Regions from separate parts of the Homo sapiens genome. Here region 1 is linked to region 2. Evidence: promoter capture Hi-C in human tissues and cell types (Jung and others, 2019). All regions are on one chromosome and are shown on one strand. Each heading gives the region's core, a stretch centred on a gene start or on the middle of the fragment in contact. The rest is flanking DNA. Distances are from core to core; before and after follow the strand shown. Region 1 has its middle 290 kb from the start of PKN2. Region 2 holds the start of GTF2B (general transcription factor IIB).

Evidence for each region. The method cuts DNA at HindIII sites, captures the fragments that hold promoters and counts their contacts. A contact is called where the count stands out against the background at its distance.
Region 1: a contact is called between a fragment that was not itself captured here and the fragment with the promoter of GTF2B in region 2, in 1 of the 25 tissues and cell types used here (mesenchymal stem cells).

What each region holds. Positions count from the first base shown.
Region 1 is chr1:88,389,473-88,394,655 of GRCh38, reverse strand. No RefSeq gene overlaps it. Among named protein-coding and RNA genes, the nearest start is that of PKN2, 290 kb to the left of the region's middle. The HindIII fragment of the contact is 6,292 bases long and covers 1-5,183 here.
Region 2 is chr1:88,890,195-88,895,525 of GRCh38, reverse strand. GTF2B (general transcription factor IIB) reads left to right here and starts at 3,959. Exons shown (of 7, transcript NM_001514.6): 1 at 3,959-4,043. The coding sequence starts at 4,027. RefSeq lists an enhancer at 3,674-3,783. The HindIII fragment of the contact is 18,960 bases long and covers 1-5,331 here.

The DNA of each region.
Region 1 (5,183 bases), core at 1,272-3,771, 500 kb after region 2:
GTAGTCTTTTATCCCTCGCCTGACCTCCCACTCTTCCCCATAAGTCCCTGAAGTCCACTGTATCATTCTTGTGCCTTTGTGTCCTCAGAGCTTAGCTCCCACATATCAGTGAGAACATATGATGCTTGATTTTCCATTCCTGAGTTACTTCACTTAGAATAATAGGCTCCAACCTCATCCAGGTCACTGCAAATGCTGTTAATTCATTCCTTTTTATGGCTGTGTAGTATTCCATCATATGTATGTGTCTATCTATCTACACACACACACACACACACACACACACCACAGTTTCTTTATCCACTGGTCGATTGTTGGGCGTTTGGATTGGTTCCACGATTTTGCAGTTGTGAATTGTGCTGCTATAAAATGAGTGTGCAGGTGTCTTTTTCAGATAACGGCTTCTTTTCCTCTGGGTAGATACCCAGTAGTGGGATTACTGGATCAAATGGTAGTTCTACTTTTAGTTCTTTAAGGAATCTCCACACTGTTTTCCCTAGTGGCTGTACTAGTTTACATTCCCACCAGTGGTATAGAAGTGTTTCCTGATCACCGCATCCATGCCAACATTTACTGTTTTTTGATTTTTTGATTATGGCCATTCTTGCAGGAGTAAGGTGGTATCGCATTGTGGTTTTTATTTGCATCTCCCTGATCATTAGTGATGTTGAGCATTTTTTCGTACGATTATTGGCCATTTGTATATCTTCTTTTGAGAATTGTTTATTCATGTCCTTAGCCTACTTTTTGATGGGATTGTTTTTTTCTTAGTGATTTGTTTGAGTTCATTGTAGATTCTGGATATTAGTCCTTTGTCGGATGTATAGATTGTGAAGATTTTCTCCCACTCTGTGGGTTGTCTGTTTACTCTGCTGACTGTTCCTTTTGCCATGCAAAAGCTCCTTAATTAGGTCCCAGCCATTTATCTTTGTTTTTATTACATTTGCTTTTGGGTTCTTGGTCATAAAATCCTTGCCTAAGCCAACGTCTAGGATTTTTCTGATGTTATCTTCTAGAACTTTTATAGTTTCAGGTCTTAGGTTTAAGTCTTTAATCATCTTGAGTTGATTTTTGTATAAGGTGAGAGATGAGGATCTAGTTTCATTCCTGTACATGTGGCTAGCCAATTATCCCAGCACCATTTGTTGAATAGGGTGTCCTTTCCCTACTTTATGTTTTTGTTTGCTTTGTCAAAGATCAGTTGGCTGTATTTGGGTTTATTTCTGGGTTCTCTATTCTGTTCCATTGGTCTATGTGCCTATTTCTATGCCAATACAATGCTGTTTTTATGACTATGGCCTTATAGTATAGTTTGAAATCAGGTAGTGTGATGCCTCCAGATTTGTTCTTTTTGCTTAGTCTTGCTTTGGCTATGCGGGTTCTTTTTTGGTGTCATGTGAATTTGCTTTTTCTAATTTTGTGAAGAATGATGGTGGTATTTTAATGGGGATTGTGTTTAATCTGTAGATTGCTTTTGGCAGTATGGTCATTTTCACAATATTGAATCTACCCATCCATGAGCATGGTATGTGTTTCCATTTGTTTGTGTCATCTATGATTTCTTTCAGCAGTTTTAGGAAGTTTTAATTTCAGTTCAACAGAAGAACCTAATGTAATTTAAATATATTTTATTACACCTCAATATTTCTTTCGTGCTTGCTTTTCCTGGAAATCTAAGTCCAGATTTGAACCACAAGTAGACTTTGCTGTAGCCATATGCTGGTTTTTCATTAATGTAGGAAATATGAGGCCGGGCGCAGTGGCTTATGTTGTAATCCCAGCACTTTGGGTGGCTGAGATGGGAGGATAACTTGAGATCAGGAGTTCAAGACCAGCCTGGCCAACATGGTGAAACCCCGTCTCTACTAAAAATACAAAAATCAGCTGGGTGTGGTTGGCAGGTGCCTGTAATTCCAGCTACTCAGGAAGCTGAAGAAGGAGAAACGCTTGAACCTGAGAGGCAGAGGTTGCAGTGAGCTGAGATCACACCACTGCACTCCAGCCTGGGTGACAGAGGGAAACTCTGTCTCAAAAAAATAAAGAAAAATTTTGGGTGGCATTGGTAGACATATATTGGCCAGTGCAAACATTTTTAACTGACTAGAAATTTTACCAGATTCCAAAATATTGAAAAGTACTTAGAAAACCATTTATGCTCCTGTTGTTTGCTTTTCTCATTTACAAAGTGCGAAATAATGGTACAGTAGAACTTTATTGTAGTGATGTTATATTATTGTCTGGGAATGGCAATATCAGTTATAAGCTTTTTGTATCAAGGACATATAGGCTAGGCATTACTATAGATAATATGAATAATAATGATCATAGCTATTTATTGAAATTATCGTAAATGCCTTAAATGGCAAGGTAAGTCTTATTTACTTATGAGGAAGAGGTGATTACCATATGTGGCTTTGCAGGGTGTGCACCGCATAAATTGTAAGGAGCATTATTCACAGTGGTGGTTATAAATGTGGTTGTGTGTGCATGTGTGGGTATCTGTGGTTTGAGTTTGTCTCCACCAAAACCTATGTTGAAACTTTATCCCCAGTGTGGTGCTGCTGGGAGGTGAGACCTAATGGAATCCCTCACGAATGGCTTAGTGCTGTTCTCACGGTAGTCAGTGAGTTCTCACTCTGGTGAGGCTGAATTAGTTCTCAAGGGAATGGATTAGATCTGATCAGAGTGAGTTGTTACAAAGCCAGGATGTCCCTCAGATTTTGCCTCTTTGCACATGTCTGCTTGCCCTTTGATTTTCCCCACCATCTTATGATTCAGCATGAAAGCCCTGGCTGGAAGCTCAGCCATGCCCTTGAATTTCCCAGCCTGAAGAACCATAAGCTAATTAATCCTCTTTTCTTTATAAATTACCCACCCTTAGGTATTCTGTTATTTAATAGCAACACTAAATGGACGAAGACAAAAAATTGGTACCGAGGAATGGGGCTCTTGCTATACAGATATCTGAAAATGTGGAAGAGGCCTTGAAACTGGGATATGGACAGAGGTTGGAAGAGTTTGGAGGACGAGGCTAGAAAGAGACTACTGCAGTGACAGTGAATGAAGCAGTAAGGGCGATTCTGGTGAAGGCTCAGAAGAAGACAGAAAGACAAGGGAAAGTTTGGTTGTCATGACCAAAATGCAGATAGAAGTATGGACAATAAAGGCCAATCTGATGAGCTTCAGATGGAAATGAGGAGTATTTATTTGTACACTGGAGCAAAGCTCACCCTTGCTGTAAAGTAGCAAAGAGCTTGGCAGACCTGTGTTCATACCCTGGGGCTTTATGGAAGGCCAAACATAGAGTTATGACTTAAGAATATCTGGCAGAAGAAGTTTCTAAGTAGCAAAGCACTCAAGAACTGGCATGGTTACTTTTAGCAGCTTATGCTCAGCTATAACAGTAAAGGAATGACTTAAAATCAAAACTTATAATTAAAAAAGAAACAGAGCGGCTGGGCGCGGTGGTTCACACCTATAATCCCAGCACTTTGGGAGGCCAAGGTGGGCAGATCACCTGAGGTAAGGAGTTCAAGACCAGCCTGACCAACATAGAGAAACCCTGTCTCTACTAAAAATACAAAATTAGCCAGGCGTGGTGGCGCATGCCTGTAATCCAAGCTACTCGGGAGGCTGAGGCAGGAGAATCAGTTGAACCCGGGAGGCAGGGGTTGCAGTGGGCCGAGATCGCGCCATTGCACTCCAGCCTGGGCAACAAGAGCGAAACTCTGTCTCAAAAAACAAAAACAAAACAGACAAAAAGAAACGGAGCATAAAAGTTACACTGGTCGTCAGTGTACTAGTAGTATACTGGCCAAATTTGGCCAGGTAGAACCTTGAATTTTCATAACAATTATGGAAACTTAGAAGGCTACAGCAATATTCATTAAATATAATAACTGAATATATATTTTAAATGTTGTTCGTAAAGCAGGCTTTTAATATCAATCAGGGTGGGCCTCAGGATTTATGAGAAATTAATTGATGAACACACAAAGGTAAATGTTGAGAAAATTGCAGGAAGGGAGGTGTCATTGATCCATGACTCCTTTCTTCCCTATTTACAAAGCTTAGTGTACCCGGTTGGCTAGCCGACAGTTCACATTTTAGGGAAAAAGATTATTGAGAAGTAGATAATGAGGATAAAAGAGAGGTTTGGGTTAAATCAGGGAAGTAATAAGCTTTTGGATGCCAGAGGGACAGTTCGAGGCCATTAAACATACTGTACATCTTAAGGAAAACTAAGCTTGCTTCACAATTTGAGTTTTCTCACCTTCTGAAATGTGTCTCATGAAGAGTAAGCTTCCTAATTCTGACCGTATAAGATTAATTCACCATTTCAATTGAGTGTGTTGCGCTCAATAAGCAAGTGTTGAATACTATTAATATTCAGAGTAACGTGTTTCATGCTGGGGGATTCAATAATATGCAATAATAATAATATTTGTAGAGCATTCTAAAGTTTGCACATTCATTTCTCAGACCTCTTCTCATTTAAAATCTTGGAAAGCAGGTATAATGGCTACCCCATTAACAGAGAAGAAAACAGACTCAGTGACTTGCCTAAATTTTAGAATATAACAAGTGTCAGATTTGGGAATCAAACTCAAGTCTTCCAACTTTGGGATCCATCTTATTTCCAGTATATCAGATTCTCTGCCCTAAACAGCCACATTAAAGTGAGAGAAACATAAATAGCCTCAAATGTGGGAAGAGTGTAATTGAAAAATAAATGTCATCTTAGTAACATTGTTTTCCCCCCAAATTATAGCAGTAAACAGGAGATTACAGTGCCTGATTGCGTTACATATTCTGATAGCATGACTTTTATATTTTAGGAGCAGTGTATCTTGCCTTTTATAAGTCTAGGTCCTGTTTTTCTCAGTATGTTTTCAGAAACCATATAGTTGAATTATGTTAGTTTTATATACTTGGAAATTAGACCTCTTATTCTTTCTCATGAATACATAGACTGCTTTTCTCAACAAACATAGTGCTTAAAGAAAGCCTGCAGTAAATTCCTTTTGACCTTTTCAATCCATTTTCATGGATGATGTCTCTGGTAGTATATTAGACTTTTTGGCTTGTCTGCATTTTGATTCAAGTTTTGTTGATTGTCTTAAATTGATAAAGCCTATTAAATAAGATATGACATGCATATGTAAACTCATAAAAGTGAATAA
Region 2 (5,331 bases), core at 2,710-5,209:
TATTGCTATGTAAAAAAGGTTTAAAAGTCCGTATTTCTAAGAGATGTACATAAATGTATATATGGGTTCAGGTAATAGATAAACTTTGTTTTAAAATAATTCAGCAAACGGAGAAGTAAAGAGAAGGATACATGAAACAAATGTGTCAACATCTTGATAACTGTGTAATCAGGATGATGGGTATGATGGGGATTTATAATATTATTCCCATTATTCTGTCCCATTTTTGTGTTTGAACATTCTCAAACATAATTTTAAAATCTGAGAAATTTAAAAAACCTTCACATTTTTAGGAACAATACATATGGTCTTATAGCCACCAGGCACATGAGGCTTGTCTAATATCCTAGGCATCTTTTTCCATCTCCAAAAGAGTCTAGTAGGATCTGGTCTGTTCATACATTCCATCAAATCCTCTGTTCTTCCTAGTCCAAGAGGATATGTCTTTTAATTTCCAAACAAATATTTCTGAAGCCTTGCTTAAGTTGGGGAATTGCCATCTTCTCCAACATCACCATGCAGACACTTAAAAATGTTTTCAAAAGTGAAACCATGAGGTAAATCTAATGACCCTCTAAAACATTATGACAGGTAAAATAATCCAGACACAAAAGACGACGTATCATATGATTCCATTTATATGAAAAGCCCAAGAAAGGCAAATCCATAGAGACAGAGAGTAGATTAGAGGGTCATGGGGCTGGAAATGGGATAGGCATATAATGTAAATGGGCATAAAAGATCGTATTGGGATGATGGAAATGTGCTAAAACAGGATTGCGGGGATGGTTGTACAACTCAGTTGCCAAAAATCATTAAATTTTAAACAGGTGAATTTTACTATATGTAATTATATCTCAATAAAGTTGATTTTTAAAAAAGAAATCTAGCTAGGTCACAAGCATTTTTTTTTTTTTTTAGATGGAGTCTCGCTCTGACACCCAGGCTGGAGTGCAGTGGTGCAATCTTGGTTCACTGCAACCTCCACCTCCTGGGTTCAAGCGATTCTCCTGCCTCAGCCTCCCAAGTAGCTGGGACTACAGGTGTGTGTCAACACACCTGGCTAATTTCTGTATTTTTGGGAGAGACAGGGTTTCACCATGTTGGCCAGGCTGGTCTTGAACTCCTGACCTCAGGTGATCCACCTGCCTCGGCCTCCCAACGTGCTGGGATTACAGGCGTGATTCACGATGCCAGGTGGGTCACAAGCATTTTTAAATCATTTATTAGTCATGTAAAACATTTTATACTTAAAATGAACTATAGCACATCAACTTGAGATTTCACAGTAGTGATATAAACTTTTCGAATAACTTTCTAAGTAAAAAGATGAATTAATTTAAACCATTGCTTTAAATCATTTTAATTTACATAATTAATTTAAGTAACAATTATTATACAAACCAGAAGTTTTGGTGAATGCTAGTTAGGTTATTGGTTCCCAAGTGATAAAACCCCAGCTCTGTGTGTGTGTGTGTGTGTGTGTGTGTGTGTGTGTATTTTAACCTCAAGATCAATAATAAATATTAAATGGGATTATGTTGATTAAAATGCTTTGTAAATTTCCAGTGCTGTACTAACAAAAGAAAACGAATGGCTTACCTAAGGTGCCTTCTATTTTAATACAAAAGAAATTCTTACAAGTTTATGACAGACAAGAGACTCTCCAGGTGGGGCAGGAGTTAATTTAACCAGTAGTGCTGCCTCCCTTTTCTAGGGTTTCAATTTCTTCCTTCAACAAACATTATTGAATGCCTACCATGAATCCACTAGGTGCAGGTCCATGTTCTGGATCCTTAAGAGATGCACAGTTGTCTTATTCCTCCTCTTCCTCCAAGTTAAGATGCTTTACTATGAAACCTCTACTGGACTGAGGTGCAGCACCCCCAAGCCCTTTCCTGGTTGCACTTGACAAAAATATTGAGGGAGGAAAAAACCCCCACAAGAGTACAGTCAAGTTTTTAAAATTACAGAATTACAAAATAGAAGATTGGGATTGGGAAAGAAAAAAGAAATCATGCTCCCCGGTTCCCACCTAGATTTGAGTTCCTAAAATCCTGCCTCTCGCACCCCTTTTTCTTTCTAAGGAAGCTAGTATCTCCCACCTTCTCAAGAAAACAGTGAGTGCTCCATTACATTTAAATCCCATCCCCAGATGAAGGAAGCAGTCATTATCTTCTAAGTTCTCAGCCCCATGAAAACCACCATGAAAATACCAATCCCCGTATTTTCAAGAATAGTTGTCAGCAAAGTGTTGCCGCAGGAGAATACTGTCTGAAGGCAGGGAACCTAAGGCAGATTCACACTGATTTCCTAGAACTAAATCAAATGGAAAACCCCGGCCGGGCGCGGTGGCTCACGCCTGTAATCCCAGCACTTTGGGAGGCCAAGGCGGGCGGATGACGAGGTCAGGAGATCAAGACCATCCTGGCTAACAGGGTGAAACCCCGTCTCTACTAAAAATACAAAAACAAAATTAGCCGGGCGTGGTGGCAGGCTCCTGTAGTCCCAGCTACTCGGGAGGCTGAGGCAGGAGAATGGCGTGAACCTGGCAGGCGGAGCTTGCAGTGAGCCCAGATCGCGCCACTGCACTCCAGCCTGGGCGACAGAGCAAGACTCCGTCTCAAAAAAAAAAAAAAAAAAGGAAAACCCCAACTTTCCACACCTAAGTAACAAAAGAACCAGACGTTACTCCCTTTGCAACCCCCTCCCCACTACACAACCACACACACACACACACACACACACACACACACTTTAGCCGTGTGGCAGATGTGAAATTGAAAGTATCTCTGATTCGTTGCTTTCTGCAACCAATCAGACGCTTGCATAGGAGTGTAACTTTGTAACTTCACTTTAGCCTCTGATTGGTTGCTTTCCACAACCAATCAGACTGATTGTGGAGCCACTACTTCATTTACATAGGGTGTACACCATGTAACCAATGGGAAACCTCTAGAGGGTATTTAAACCCCCGAAAATTCTGCAAAAGGAGTCTTGAGCTGGTATTACCTTTTCGTTTTCAATAAATCTCTGCCTTTATTCCTTCATTCTTTCCTTAGTTTGTGCGTTGTGTCCAGTTCTTTGTTCAAAACGCCAAGAACGTGAATACTCTCCACCGGTAACTGTTATTGTTGTTAGTAATAGTGGTATTACAATTTTGACGTTAGTTTGGCTAATTAATAAATCTAGGGATATTTTGCAATATCTAGATGTTCTCGCAAGTTTTCTATATGTAGCTATCAGCCAACGTTACAAAGGCCGTGAAAAAAAAATGATCAGAGCATGGCCCATATCGTCGTGCCTCTTGTGTACACATTGGTTTCACGTAGTTTTGTTTCATCTTCTGCCAATTCTAAAAGGGTATGCAAGGCAAGATACCATAACCTATATAAACTTACATGACCTGTATAAAGGACGTGCCTAAGAAGACAACATGCTAGCTGATGACAGATCCTGAACAGACACCTGTTCTGGATGACCTAAGTGAGTTTCTCCTTTTATTTCAAATTTCTTAGAAAGAATCACCCTTGGGGCACGTAAGAACTGGCTCAAATGGGAGTGCCTGACGCGGGGTGGGGGGCTGGGGGCGGGGTAGGTGGTGGCCGTGAGAAGGTAGCCGTGAGAAGGTGGGAGAGGAAGGGGTGGTTAAACTATTAGGGATGCAGGCTTTGGCACCACTACGAAGCCAGGGTTTTCTTTGTGTTTTAACTGTCAGATTGAGAGTAGCTCTGTTGTAGCCCCTTTGCAGGGTTCCCATGAGACTTTTCCTAGGTAGTTACGTTGACTCGCTTAGCAACATAGCAAATTACAGAAACGGAGTAAGAACGTAAGAAATCGCAAAGCACGTGACGTATGGGATCTCACTGTTCTTGGCCCTTCTCCCGACCCGTAGCCCTGCTCTGCTACGACTGCGTGGGTGAGTCGTCTATAAAAACTCATCTCTGCGCGTCTCTTCGCCACATTCGCTTCCTGCTTTCGGTGTGTCTGTTGTGTCTTGTTGCGGGCACCGCAGTCGCCGTGAAGATGGCGTCTACCAGCCGGTTAGTATGTCCCGCCGAGCCCGGCGAGCTGAGGGGCGGGCGCGAGCGCCGCCGGCTTTTAGGCGGCCTCCGGGCAGCCTCGTAGGGCTGAGCGCCTAGGGGTATGGGAGAGAAGCGGCGGGACTGGCCGACGGGCCGGGACAAAGGCACTTCCAGACGGCAGGACTGTCAGGGTGTCGCAGGGGTTACCGAGCTGTTGACGTTATTGCCCTGGAGTCTTATGTAGATATCACCCTATGTGGGTCCTGGTGGGCTACTGTGTCCCCAGTCCTTGCCCTCGTATCTTTTCCCAATATTTCAATCTCCCTTTATTTTCTCTTCTTCCCACCCTCCCTCCTCTCCTCCCCCGCGCCCCCCCCCCCGCTTGTTTTTTTCATCTACGGCCCAAACAACCCGAGGGTCCGTAATTTCTCCTTTTCAAAGGAACGGGAAACAGTTAGTTTCAGGTTCCTATCGATCTGACAGCTAGGAAGTTGGGAACGTCAGCATTGGTAAGCCAGATGGAACCTGGTTGGTTACCATCACAGCGGGCCTCGGAAGTGGAAGCTAGAGCCATCGGAAGAGTTGATTAGTTCCCTGCTAAAGGATTTGTTTACAAATATCGTTGCCTGTGTACTTCTGAAGAAAATCTTGCCAAAGAAAATTAGTTATATGTGCTGGGAGGTCGCTTTTTAGTATATATTTAAGAATGCAGTGTACTCATATCTACAGGAAATGCATGCAGTACCCTCAGAAACAGCCTTTAATCTTGTGACCTGAAAAATGCTTGCAGACCCTAATTATGTCTCTCATTACCACTGTGAGGTAGATATTAGTATTTTTGCATAAGTGTAAACTGAGTCATGCCAATGTTGACTTTTCCAAGAGTCGTGTTAGAGTGTAGAGTCTAAGACAACCTGTTTCCTGTTATCCACACCTGGCCTTTGGTTAACTAATCCTGTGTTGAAAGTATCAAATTAATTCTACAGCTTCTGGAACTCTGGCACTATTTTTCTGACCCTGCTATCATCTGTGGAATTGGTTAATTTCACAGTGAAAGCCATTTTTACAAAATAGCCTTTTCTGGTAACTGCCAAGACTTACATTTTATGATTAGAAAAGGAATTTGGGGTGGGAGGCAGCTTTAGCTAATATACTGTTTGAACAGAACTCATAAAGCCAGTGACACTCTTGTTTACTGATTCTGATTCTTGGATTGGATGCTCAGTCATTCTATCTGGGTGTTGTTCTGTCGGGTAAGGCCTCCTTGTAGGTAAATGGAAAACTTGGGCTCCCCAGATCACTCAAA